Regions from separate parts of the Homo sapiens genome. Here region 1 is linked to region 2. The links are contacts of gene promoters, found by promoter capture Hi-C in blood cells and fetal thymus (Javierre and others, 2016). All regions are on one chromosome and are shown on one strand. The core of a region is centred on a gene start or on the middle of the fragment in contact, and the rest is flanking DNA. Distances in the headings are between cores, read along the strand shown. Region 1 overlaps RTL1 (retrotransposon Gag like 1). Region 2 holds the start of LINC02314 (long intergenic non-protein coding RNA 2314).

Evidence for each region. Contacts are between HindIII fragments. The CHiCAGO score rates a contact against its expected background, and 5 or more counts as called.
Region 1: a fragment that was not itself captured here is called in contact with the fragment with the promoter of LINC02314 in region 2 in 4 of 17 cell types (M1 macrophages, M2 macrophages, M0 macrophages and 1 more); the score reaches 7.1 in M1 macrophages.

What each region holds. Positions count from the first base shown.
Region 1 is chr14:100,882,655-100,889,327 of GRCh38, forward strand. RTL1 (retrotransposon Gag like 1) reads right to left here. Exons shown (of 4, transcript NM_001134888.3): 4 at 1-2,220. The coding sequence starts at 2,134. It overlaps MIR127 (microRNA 127), which reads left to right and starts at 325; the gene lies at 325-421. It overlaps MIR432 (microRNA 432), which reads left to right and starts at 1,829; the gene lies at 1,829-1,922. MIR136 (microRNA 136) reads left to right here and starts at 2,048; the gene lies at 2,048-2,129. RefSeq lists a silencer at 3,038-3,332 and an enhancer at 6,002-6,171. The HindIII fragment of the contact is 160 bases long and covers 3,458-3,617 here.
Region 2 is chr14:101,438,256-101,444,348 of GRCh38, forward strand. LINC02314 (long intergenic non-protein coding RNA 2314) reads left to right here and starts at 3,821. Exons shown (of 2, transcript NR_135240.1): 1 at 3,821-4,002; 2 at 5,727-6,060. The HindIII fragment of the contact is 14,900 bases long and covers 1-6,093 here.

The DNA.
Region 1 (6,673 bases), core at 2,288-4,787, 560 kb before region 2:
GTATGATAGGGTCTGGGGAGAGCGCAAACGGCTGGTAGCTCTTCATCTCTTCAAGCTCCAAACCAAACGCTGCTTTCCACACATCTTCGGTGCGGTGCCCGTTCACGCTTTCCTCCACAATGGTCCCACGCAGCTCCAGTTTTGTGAACCACTCGGCTCCGTGTAACTGGTCAAACAGTTCCGGAATCATCTGTATGTAGTCCTGTCTGTTGGTCAGCATGTCCTGCAGGTCCCAGTATTCCTCCTGTAGCCTGGCTCTTTCTTGCATCCTGGCACCCACAGGTTCCCAAGGCGCGGTGGAGGGACACTCGTAAAAGGTCTCGCTGTGATCACTGTCTCCAGCCTGCTGAAGCTCAGAGGGCTCTGATTCAGAAAGATCATCGGATCCGTCTGAGCTTGGCTGGTCGGAAGTCTCATCATCTGCTTCCTTCGGGTTAAACACGTCGGCCAGGTCTGAGTATGGGTGTGGCAGTCCGGGTAGCAGGCTCATGCCGTGCCTCTCTAGGGCAATGCATGGCGGGGGCGGGCGGAAGCAGTTCTTCAGGCAGTAGGGAGAGTGGAAGGTGCAGCGGCCTTTGATCCAGTCGACTTCGGGGGCGTGGACTCGGAGCCAGCGGATGCCTAGGACCACAGAGAAGTTCGGTGAAGGTACGATGTCAAATTCGATGGACTCCTGGTGGTTCTGGTGGATACACACCAGGGGCTCCGTGTAGAGCCAGACAGGCTCGTTGCCAATCAGCGAGCCGTCCACGGATTGGACCGGCTGTGGGTACGGCTTCTCGTAGAGCTCGACGTAGTGCTCTTGGGCGAACTTCTCATCCATGAAGTTGCCGTCAGCTCCCGAATCCACCAGGGCCTGGACCGCGACGCTGTGGTAGGGGTTCACTCTCACCATGAGCAGCAGGAAGAGGTGGGCGCGATTGATGTCCGGATGGACTTCGCTGGGCAACCAGCTGCTGACCATCCACCTCTCTGGAGCAGGTGAGTCGATCCAGGTCAGGTTCCGGGGGCGGGCCTCGGGGGGCAGCCTGAGCATAGCTCTTCTCTCTGCCAGCTTCTCTTCTATTTGCAGGATGAGCACAATCAGACTGTCTAGGGAATCCGGCTGAGGGACCCGGAATAGATAGTGCCTGATCTCCTCGTTGAGCCCCTGGCACAAGTGGGCCTGCAGGACTTCATCTGGCCAGCCCAAGATGGGTACCAGGCTCTGGAACTCATCGATGTACTCAGTGGCAGAGCGGCCGCCCTGCCTGATGGTGAACATGGCCTCTTCTGCCACACGCAGTGCCTGGCGGTACTCAAACACTTCGGACATGGCCTCCAGGAAGGCTGGGAAGTCTCCGATCAGGGGGCTGTTTTCCTGCAGTAGAGCTTTGGCCCATTCTAATGCCAAGCCGGACAGGTGATTGATGACATAGCCAACTCTCAGACGGTCGTTATAGAACATTCTTGGGTAGCTCTGTAAGGTCAGTTGGCAGAGTACGATGAACTCGTGGAATTCTCTGCGATCGCCAGAGAAGTGCTTTGGGGCGGGCAGTTGGCCTGCATTGATCCCTTTGATCAAGATCTCTTCTGCTACTCTCTGTTGCTCTTTGAGGTCTTGCATTCGGAAGTACAGCGAGATGATGGACCTCACCATGGCCATAAGTTCTGCGGTTGAGTGCTCGGTCTGGTTTTGCTCTTGAGGAGTCTCCTCCCTTCCCGATTCCTTCAGGTCAGTGTGAGCCTCTTGTTCTTCTCGGGCTCCCGATGGGTTGACTGATGCTTCTTTCATCCTATCAGATGCTCCACTGAGTGGATCCCCCCTTGCCTGGTGTGAACCGTTGCATGACTCCTCCAGGTCTTGGAGTAGGTCATTGGGTGGATCCTCTATTTCCTTACGTGGGCCACTGGATGGCTCCTCCATGTCTTGGAGTAGATCAGTGGGCAGCTCTTCCATTTCCTGGAGTGGGCCACTGGGGGGCTCCTTCTTTTCCTGGGCTGGGCCGCTGGCTGGCCCTGCCTCTCCCCGCACTCCACTGCCCGACGTCGCCTCGGTGGTGTTGGATGAGCCCTCGGAGGACTCCATTTGTTTTGATGATGGATTCTTATGCTCCATCATCGTCTCAAATGAGTCTTCAGAGGGTTCTATCATTTCGTCGGATGGAAAGGAGTGTATTCTGAAGATTGGTAAGGTTGTGATGGCGTCCAGTCAGTAGCTGGGACCGTGGAGATCAGAACCTGGTGGTGGAAGGGGAGTGTGGGGAGTAAAGGCAGTAGTTTAGGATCTTGTGAAGTGGCAGTATCAGGGTCTCAAGGACAAATCAGATGCCCAACTAATCAGAGCAGAGAGAAATGGGGGAAAGCCTTCTTGTATCGAGCCAGCCTCTTTGGCTGGTCACTTGGGGTGCCCCCAGGGAGGGAAGATCTGTCAACCCCTGACCTGCCTCCCAGGCTTATTCAGTCTGCCTGTCCTGTCCTTTTCCTCCATAGATGTGAGAAATTCACAGCCCATAAATTCTGTGGCTGGGAGCAGCCACCGTGGCAGGCGGGTACCTGGCAGGGTGCACAGGCTGCTCCATTCCCCCCTGGCACATGCACCTGGTCAATCCTCTTTTCCTGCTTTGGTCACCTGAGAATCACAGAGGTCACATCTCAGCACCATCCAAAGCCACCCCTGGCAGGCTCAGGGCTCTGGAGCAAGCCCAGCCACCTTGGTTGTGGAGCGGGAATCTCTAGCAAAGATGCCTACTGTTTCACCAGTGCAGTGGAAGAGGAGAAAATGGGCACTTGGCCACTGTCCCGTCAGTTGGGTCAGCAGCCCAAAATAGTTCTTATTTCCTTCCCCATGTTCAAAATAGAAATTTCAGGGGGTGTGTACAGGTCTGGGTTTTTTTTTTTTTTTTCCATAAATTTTATAACATACCTACTATGTGCTGGATAACTGCATATTTGTTACTTGATTCTAACTCAGACTTTTGGCCAATTTCTCTTTCTCGATTTGGTCTCCTTCCAATGCTATGTTCTCCCGACCTCTGAGCTGTTGAGGAGATCTTCAAATAATCTCCTTCTCTTCCTACAATCTCCACTCTCCCAGGACTGCCCTCTTTGTGAGGCTTCTGGAACTTCACACATCTGGCCTCAATTTCACCAGTGCAAGCATATCTGCACGCCTCTCCAATCTTATCCTCCCAGGTCCCCTTCTTAACGCCAGTGGGTCTGGTCTCCTCTTTCTAGCAAATATCTTTTTCTCTCTGTTGCTGGTTGAGCCCTCCCAACAGACATGTATCTGGCAGAGTTGGGACATTGAGTGTGGGGGTTGGGGGGAACATGTGACATCTTTGGAATCTGACGGTCCCAGAGTGGATTTTTGGAAATCTAGTGTTGGGTGGTTTTAGTGGGCTGAGACAGAATTGAAAGGGAATGTCTTGGTTGGGGTTATTTGCACATTTCTTCTCTGCTGGGGCAGAGCAAATTAAGCTTTGATTATCTGATAGATTAACTGTAAAGCTACTGCTCTTTATAAATTTAACACCTTTTGTTACTTCTGAGTTTTCTTCTAAGCCACTGGACCCATCCGTAAAAAAAAAAAAAAAAACTGCGTTCCCCCTTACGTGAAACTCATTGGCTAAAATCCAAGCTTTCCAACAGGATACAAAATTCAGATCTGCTGTTTCTCAAAATTAAGTACACCCTTGTTAGCATGACACTTAAATTTGATCATGCAGTCTCTCTGATTAAAGCCTTCCACTGTTTATTTACTGTCTGCAATATTAAATCCAAACCTTCTAGCGTAAACATATCTGACATGTAAACTCACCAAAACTATTCTCTGGTTAAAATGTAAGGGCCTTAATATAATATAAAATTCTTATTTTGTCATTCCTCAAGGTAGAGATCACATTTTTTTAAAGCACAGTATACAAATCAGCATGGTATAGGAATTATAAGAATCATCATCATCATCATCATGATGTACATAGCACATTGCAGAAATTAACTCATTTCCTCTCCATAAAAGTCCTCTGAGATATGCATTATTACTGTAAAATTCCAAACCTCTAATATAAAATTCTAATTGAAATACAAATAAATAATTCTAATTGAAATACAAAAACTAAGTAATTCATCTGCAGACTTATCTATCAGGAATAAAAATCTCAGCATGTCTCTCACTTAAAACTCTTTATTGGTGAAAATTTAAATTTCTTAGCAAGACGATTTAAAAACTAGATTATGCCCCCTCTTAATATAAAGTCTACACTGCTTAACATATTTACAAATTCGACCATGTGAATGATTAAATCCTTCAATGTTCCTGCCTTCAGCTCAAAATCTAATATCCTCGGCATGTTAGAAAAATCTTAATACTTCTTAACATCAAAGTTTAAACTGTTAGCAAGATGAATAAAGGTCATCTCATAATTTCTCTATTTAACACATATAAAAATTCATTTTTATTGCCTGTAAAGTTTCAACCACTTAGCATAAAATGAAAATTTTCACCGTGTAATTTACTTGCCAACTGATTAATACGAACCCCCAAATCTCATCAGGTCACTCCTAAAACCCTTTATTGGCTTAATTCCAAACCTCTTCGCATGATATAAAATTCTGACCATGTCATTCCTCAAAATAAAAAGGTCACTCTCCCTTGCAAGATACACGAATTTGCTCTTATAACTTCTGCTTAAAGCTTTATTCTATCTCTTAATTACCTATGAGATAAGGTCTAATTATTTTTAGCATAGAACAATACATTTTACTATAAAATTTCTCTGACTACTCTACCCAAGACAAAATTTCTGCCATGTTACTGCCTTAAAAATCTCTTAATGAGCCAGGCACGGTGACTCACAGCTGTAATCCCAGCACTTTGGGAGGCCAAGGCAGGTGGAACACTTGAGGTCAAGGGTTCTAGGTCAGCCTGGCCAACATGGTGAAATCCTGTTTCTACTAAAAATACAAAAATTAGCCGGGAGTAGTGGCTCATGCCCGTAATCCTAGCTACTTCTCCTAGGCTGAGGCGGGAGAATCGCTTGAACCTTGGAGGTTGCAGTGAGCCGAGATTGCGCCGCTGCACTCCAGCTTGGGCAACAGAGGGAGATTCCCTCTCAAAAAAAAAACAAGACTCTTAATGGCTGAAGTCCAAATTCCTTAGCATGGCATAAAAATGTAATTCTGTCATCCCTCAAAATAGTGTCCAAACTTCTTAGCATGCTATGTAAATTTAATCATATAACTTCTTTTTATAAAAACATGCTTTGTCTATAAATGACCCGTCTCCTCAGCATGGAGCCCAGCCTGGGTGCCCTTGTGCCCAGGGGATACCTCTGCTCACGAGTGGTCTGATGCTTATTCATTATCTGGTTCAGCAAATCCAGATACCTTAACTTAAAATATGTTTACAATCCAGTTTCTCTGGAGACAAAACCCTCATCAATTTACTTCTTAAAACGCTTTACTGGCTGACATCCGAACGCCTCTGCATGAGATTTCAACAATGAGCTCAATGAGCTCATCCCCCACCCCTTCCAAACACAGCACTTGAATGCCTTCAACTCTTTTGTAAAATCACATCTCCTTAGCATGTGAGCAAAATCTGATCATATCATCTTTATCATAGAGATCCTGTCTTATAGCTGTGCCAAAATGCACTTGTTTGAGCATGTAACTTCTCAACTTAAAACTTCTCGAGGTTTCTTCATTGCCTGTAACATAAAGTCCCAACTACTTAACACAAAATGCGACATTTTACCATGTAGTTTCTCTCAGGATGATCTATTAAAAAACCCCAAATCTCATCCTGTTCCTGCTGTAAGCCCTTTATTGGCTTAAATCCAAAGTTATTAACATGATATAAAAATTTGATCATGTCATCCCTTAAAGTCAAATTCACACTTCCTAGGACAATATATAAAATTTGATCTTATAACTCCTTTTAAAATCTTACAGTGTCTCTTAGTTGTAAATGGAAGAAAAGTCAAAATTCTTAGCATAAAATGTGAATTTTATTTTGTAATTCACTGCATACTATTTATCAAACGCAAAAAACTCACCAGGCCACTCTGTTAGAAAGTTTTATTGGCTAAATCAAATTCCTTGGCATATGCAACAGTCTAATCATGTTGGAGCCTCAAAATAAATTCCAAATTTCTTTTCATATTCGCAATATTGATCATTTAACTCCTCTGATTAAAATCTTTCAACTTTGGTGTCAACATTAATCACACCTCCTAGGCAAGCTCTGCAGGTTGAAATTGGCACTCCCCCAAGATAGAAATTCAAAATGTTTGCGCATGATTGTTAAATTGGTGGCTGTTACTTTTACAATTTCCAGTGTTTCCTTGTTGCTTGTAATGTGAATCCCAAAGCCGTTACCCGTAAAATATATTTTATCATGTTTTTCTGCATACTTATCTCCCACAAACAAGAATCTCATCATCACATTTCTTAAAACCCTTTGGCAAAAATCCAAACTCCTTAGCATGATATAAAACTTTGATCCTGTCATCCCTCAAAACAAAGTCCAGATTTCTTCCCAGGAAACTCAAATTATGAAACTCTTGCTTAAAATCTCAACGTGTTTTCATCACTACAAAAAGCCTCACCATTTTAGCAAGGCACCCACTTTTAATCATGGCACTCCCAGCTTCAAACCTGTCAAATTTCATGTCCTCAACATAAAATCTAA
Region 2 (6,093 bases), core at 2,571-5,070:
AAACGGCGACCGTGAAATGGGTCACAACAGAAAAAGGAATCTTTGATGAATGCCTCCATAGGCCAAGCAATTTGCAAAAAAAATTATTTCTTCTTATTTCAGCTACTTTATTTTTTAATTTTTAAAAATATTTATTGACTTGTATTCTCCAATTCAAAAAATAATTTGATCTTATTATAACAAGTGAAACAATGCAAGAAAAAGATATACAAAGGCAGTCTATCTTGGAAGTTTGATACACACATCACAATGGACTGCATAACAACATAGATTCAAATAAAGTGTTAGGAAGCCAGCTCAGAGAAAGACAGTGAGGCTGGCAGGTAGAAGAATTGCTAGTGATGGTGTTTCCATTGTGGACCAAGTAAGCAGTCATTCCCATAAGATGTGAGCAGGCGCCCTGTGCAAAAGGATTCTGTGGTCACAGTGGATGAGAAAATGCTCGGTTAATCAAAGGCACACTGCATTTTTTTTAATACACTAAAATGCACTGAGAATCTCCAAAGGAGAAAATATAATATGCAAGGTTTCTGAAATACAGTTGTCTACAAAATCTTCCTCTCTCCTCCCCAACCCTCCCCAAGAACTTTCTTATATTCCCCAGAACATGGTTTGGGAATTGCTGAAACAGGGTAATGTAAGTTTCATCCTGACCTCAGCCATTTAAAACATGCAGCCAACAATGGCTACATCTTTTGTTTTTCTCTCCTTAGGTCAGTAAGGAGATATGAGATTTTTTGTCTTGCCAGAATTCTTTATTTATTTACATTAAAAACGAGAAAAAATATATAACCACCAACAAAGGTTTCACTCTTTTTTTTTTGTACTAATATACTTCAGACTCAGCTTTTACCTTGCTGGAGGGAGAACTTAATTACTTACAGGTTTTTCTAGAACAGTCCTTAGTTCAACCCTACCACAGTTTACACTGCAGCCCACATTACAGAATTCCACTGGCATTTGGCTCTCCAGTCTCCCTCTTTAGAGTGGTAATACAGTGCTCTCAGGGTTATACACAGAGAAGTTTAGAAAATACCAGCCAGTTGAGACTAGTTGGCCCCTCCACTCAGAAAGCTGCAGAATGCCTTTCACCCAGCCACACCAAAAGATGTAAGGAGCAAAGAGCTCCCACCAGCCACGCACACAAAGGACGTGTATGCTCACCTGGAAATCAGTGGCTAAAGAGGTAGCACCCTTGCGGGGACCAGAAGGGACCCAAAGAGGCCTGAGGAAAGTGAAGGAAACTAGAAAAGACAGCAGAGTCTCACTCCTATAAGTAAACTTCAAACTTGCTTTTAAAATGATTAGCAACACATTCTGGTTTGTTTATAGTCTATACATGATCTCGCAGAGTCAAGAAAAGACAGACTTCCCTCTGTAACCTTTCCACTTGCACCAATGATTTCCAGATCATCGGTGCCTGAAGCCAATCGCCTGCTTCAAAGAGGCATCCTTTGCAAGAGCACTTGTGCGTTCAGAGTTCCAGTGGTACCAAGGATGACAGTGAGGCTTTTGATAGTGATAGGCGGCTTAATGAAGAGAGCCAGGACAGCATGCTTGCTCTGCCCCCACTCGTTCACTTGCTCCCTAACAGTGAATCGGGGGATGGTCTGAGGCTCTCCACTCCCTAACCAGAGCCCACTGAGCCCAGACTGCCACCTCGAAAATGGGTGATGACCATCGTTTCCTTGACCAGACAGGCCTCGACATCAGCCTTTCTATAGAATGCCAGAAATGGCAGAGCCTGCCCTTGGGCGAAAACACTTTTTAGATAACTAATCAGCAATAATGCTGCAACTGACCTGCCTGCAGGCTTCAGCGGCTCCAGATCTAAATTACCCTAATTTTTCTCCCCCAAAATTAGGCATAATATTATAATTTCAAGGAACGCAAGAGCCATTTCTCCCATCATTGGATACCAAGCTCAAGATGTTACAGGAAAAAGAAATAGCTTTTACTGCTGATATGAGAATTTTAAAAGAGAGACAAGTGTGAGCAAACAAAACCTGTCACATCAAATACTCTGGCAAAAAAAAAAAAAAAAAAAAGCTAGAAAAAAAATGCCAGAAATGCTGAAATCTAAATAAAGTCATTTATTTGTTATTTTAACCCCTTCACTGTCAGAGCTACTCTGGCATAAGGCTAGTTAATTCTCCAGAGGTGAGCTTTATTAAGGACAGTGCCCTTATTCTTGCAGCCATTGTTTTCTTGTCACACAGTTCTCTTGATTATCTGGTCCCTTCAAGGGGTTCCACATACAAATGGGGTGCTGTTGATGCTCCTTGGGCCGTACCTCCTTTTAAAGTATGATTTTTTCAGAGAATTTGATTTTATCCAATTTCCACCATGCTAAGCAAAAACACTAGACTGTGAGATCCCGAAGGGCAGCAGCCCCGTGACCCTCATGGTTCTGGCACATGGAAGGTATTCAAAGCATGAGATGGAAATTGCTTTTTGAACTCTGTGCCTTAGGCAGTTAACATGCAAGCAAAGATAAGATGCCTTCGGCAGGGGAGGCTATGACAACCAACGAGAAAAATGGAAAAACACCAATTGGATGGGTCTGCAGTTGATCACTTGCTCTTCCTTGGTCAAGTTCATGAGCCTGTCTCCTGTTTCGAGGATACATGCTTTTATAAATGTTAAATAAGCTAACACTGCTGAAAGGGCATTGCTAATGGAGGTCTGTGGAAATAGAGGGAAATATTTCTAATTAGAAGGTATGGATTGGGCACTCACTGTGTGCCAAGCACTACAGTGGACCCTGAAATGAGTCAGCCACAGACTCGGTCCTCCAAGATCCCCGCTCCTCCAGCTCCATTCATTTTAGCCCGATGCAATGAGGCTTCTTTCTGCCTTCAGGAATTGCTTGGGCAATGGTTCCCAGGACCTTCTGACTCAGAGGATTCCACAGACTTTTCAGCCCTTTCTTCTGGGAGGTCTCCGTGGCCTTCCCACCACTGCCTCAGTCTTGTGGTGGTGCCGCTCCCCATGGGGGCTTCTCCCACCCTCCCGGCTGCTCCTCCCCCACCTCCTGAGCCCACCTCTAGAGGCTGGGTCATCTCGGGCTGTTCCTGCGGTCTCTTCTGCTCTCTAAATACCCACTGTCCAGGAACGCCCACCCTGCGGTGGCCTCAGCTCCCACCTACAAGCCCAGGACTTTTCTCCCAAGTCCTAATCTTATTAAATATGCTGCCTGCCTGCAGGCTGTATTCACCAGCCATCTTCTCGCCTTCGCCCAGGAGTTGATACCACCACTGAGAGGGCACTGCCAAGCACCTATGCAGGGAGGCCCGGGTCCCTCTGGGCCCTGTCCGGGCCACATCCTCAGCATTTCTCTCCGTCTCAACAGCTCAAGCCCTGTGGTACCTCTTGCTGAGCCTCTGGGGTTCTCCCAGAAGGCCAGCCCCACCCTCGTCTGACCCCACAGTCCTGCCTCTCCAGTGCGGCTAGACTGTCTTCCCCAGCTGACGCCCATCTGCGGTTCCCCACGGCCAGTCTCAACAGTCTCCTGCCTGCACCCACTCCTCAGCCTTCTCCATTGGAGGCTCCCCTCCTCAGACACACAGGCCTGTCTGCTGCCCCATCGTCTCTGCGCAGGCTGCTCTCTCGGTGTCCCTGGCCCATGCCCACTCCACGCTCCAGGGCTCAGCCTCCTCTCCCGCTCTCCACCCCACCCTTCGTCTCCTGCCCTCCACCCCACCCCTCCTTTCCCGCCCTCCACCACACCCCTCCTCTCGGGCTCCTGGGCACCCCCCCGCCACCTGCGTCTCCTGTCGTCAGCAAAATGCACTATTTGCTCATCCAGTGCCCACAGTTTGCCCACCGGACGGCCCTGCTAGGTGGGAAGCTCCTTGCAGGCAGGAACCCCATCTCCTTGACTTTACTTTGGAATCCCCGCAGCCTCATACGGGGCTGAGGCAGGTCCTTCCGTAAAATGGAACTGAATGAGCGGCGCTTAATCCATCCGCCAAAGGCCAGTCTCCCTTGGGTTTTCAACAGGTAACATGAGCTTTTAAAAATGAGTCTTGTTAAATGAAGTGCCCTGATTTTCAAAGTTATGCCCACACAGAACGACAGGGCAGGGGCTCCCTTCCAGAATGACAGAGCCCTGGGGCTCGTCTGACCACTTCTCCACCCCCAGATTCCTCTCATCACCCGATGCCTTTACTTTGGGACTCTTCCAGGTCGTTCCTCACCTCGTGCAGCATTGCTGTGAGTGGGCGACAAGGAACCTCGTGGTCTCCGTGTGCTTTGCGGGGACCACCTCTTCGCAGGGGCCGCCACCTGCCTCTCCGGCGCTGCATCCTTAGCATCCCCACTGCCCCCGGATCTCCTTCAGGGAGGTGCGGCGGCAGAGCGGCCCCAGCAGCCTCCTCCTGTGGCCCAGGCGCACCAAGGCGAGCGCGGCCACGAGTTCCGGCCCAGCGCCACCCAGACTCTTTGATGTGGGTTTGTGTGTGGGAGAGTAAAAGATGCACACACCCTCCGCAAGTCTAGAATTTGTGGTTTTTGTTATCTCACAACTTCATATTTGGAAGAAGTATTTTAATGTCTTATGAGTTGTGAATAATTATGTAATTCTGCCACTTTCTCAAAACCAAGATTTTTCAAACGGACTGCTCTAGTCTGGAGCTGACATCCTTAAGAGAACTTTGCTTTTTTTCCTGTGGGTTTTAAGCAAGAGTGTGCCAAATGAATTCTTTCGTCCGCTTAAAACAGTTCATTAGGGGGAACCATCCTGTAAAAGGAAAGGAAAGGAAAGGAAAATCCTTCCTTCTTCAAATGAATTCTCAAAAATTACTTCTGAGATGCAAATGCTGCCTGAGTGTTTGAGCTCCGTGAGAGAGTCCACTTCCCAACTTGTTTTCAGTCTGCTGTTGGGTGCTACTGAATTTCTTAAACATTGTGTTTCTCCCTTATCTGTGAATTAGCCATGTGTTCTTTGGAATCTCTTCCTGGGTCTTCGTTATTCTTCCTCAGTTATTTAAGAACCTAGGGAAGGCCCGGCGTGGTGGCTCACGCCTGTAATCCCAGTACTTTGGGAGGCCGAAGCGGGCGGATCACCTGAGGCCGGGAGTTTGAGACCGGCCTGACCGACATGGAGAATCTAAAAATGCAAAATTAGCCGGGCGTGGTGGCGGGCGCCTGTAATCCCAGCTACTCGGGAGACTGAGGCAAGAGAATCGCTTAAACCTGGGAGGCGGAGGTTGCAGTGAGCCGAGATTGCGCCATTGCATTCCAGCCTGGGCAACAAGAGCGAGACTCCGTTAAAAAAAAAAAAAAAAGAAAAGAAAAAGAAAAAACCCTAGGGAAAGGGTCACGAAGACTGCATCATCAAATGACACCATGAACTCCTCAAGGGTCTACCCATTGTTTTAACTTACTGCCCAAAAGGTACTTCTCATTCGAATAGCCCCCATTCTACAGTCATCTCTATCAATCATCATGTCACTTGATCATGACATCGTTCTAAGCACCTGTAACATCCCAGACCCTGTCTGAAGCACCAGGAATGCTGGGTGAGCGGGACAGAAGGGACCACAGATCCTCACGTTGCCTTATCAAGTTTAGACTCTAGTGGTCCCGATGGCTGATCTCATGACATTCAAATAGGAGGCGATCATTTCCTTAAATACAAACACGAGATTGTCAATAGTTAGGATGTGCTTATTTTTCCTCCAGGGCATAAGATTTTTTTTCTTGTATGTATTTCATATCCCTAGCTGGAGAAATATCAAAAGAATCTGAATATCACCATCTGGAAGTTGTGCCATGGACTCCAGTGGGCAGGATTCGAGCTGGGATTCTCTTCTTCCTCTAGCAGTGTATTTCTTCTGCTTAAAATGAGCACAAACACATCTAATTCCCTAATGGACCAACTCAGACCTAAAAGTCTCTTATTCTTTGCCCGCCTTCCTCTACCCACATGGATTCCTGGGATTCTCTAAATGCAGATGGCAATGGGGAGGGCTGGGGATTCCCATCAAGGATATTTGATCATCGGTGACTTCACTTAACCAATAAATCAAACGTGTTGAAATACACACATGTCAGAAATGTGGTATGCTGTTACTCACTCAAAAGTCTGTT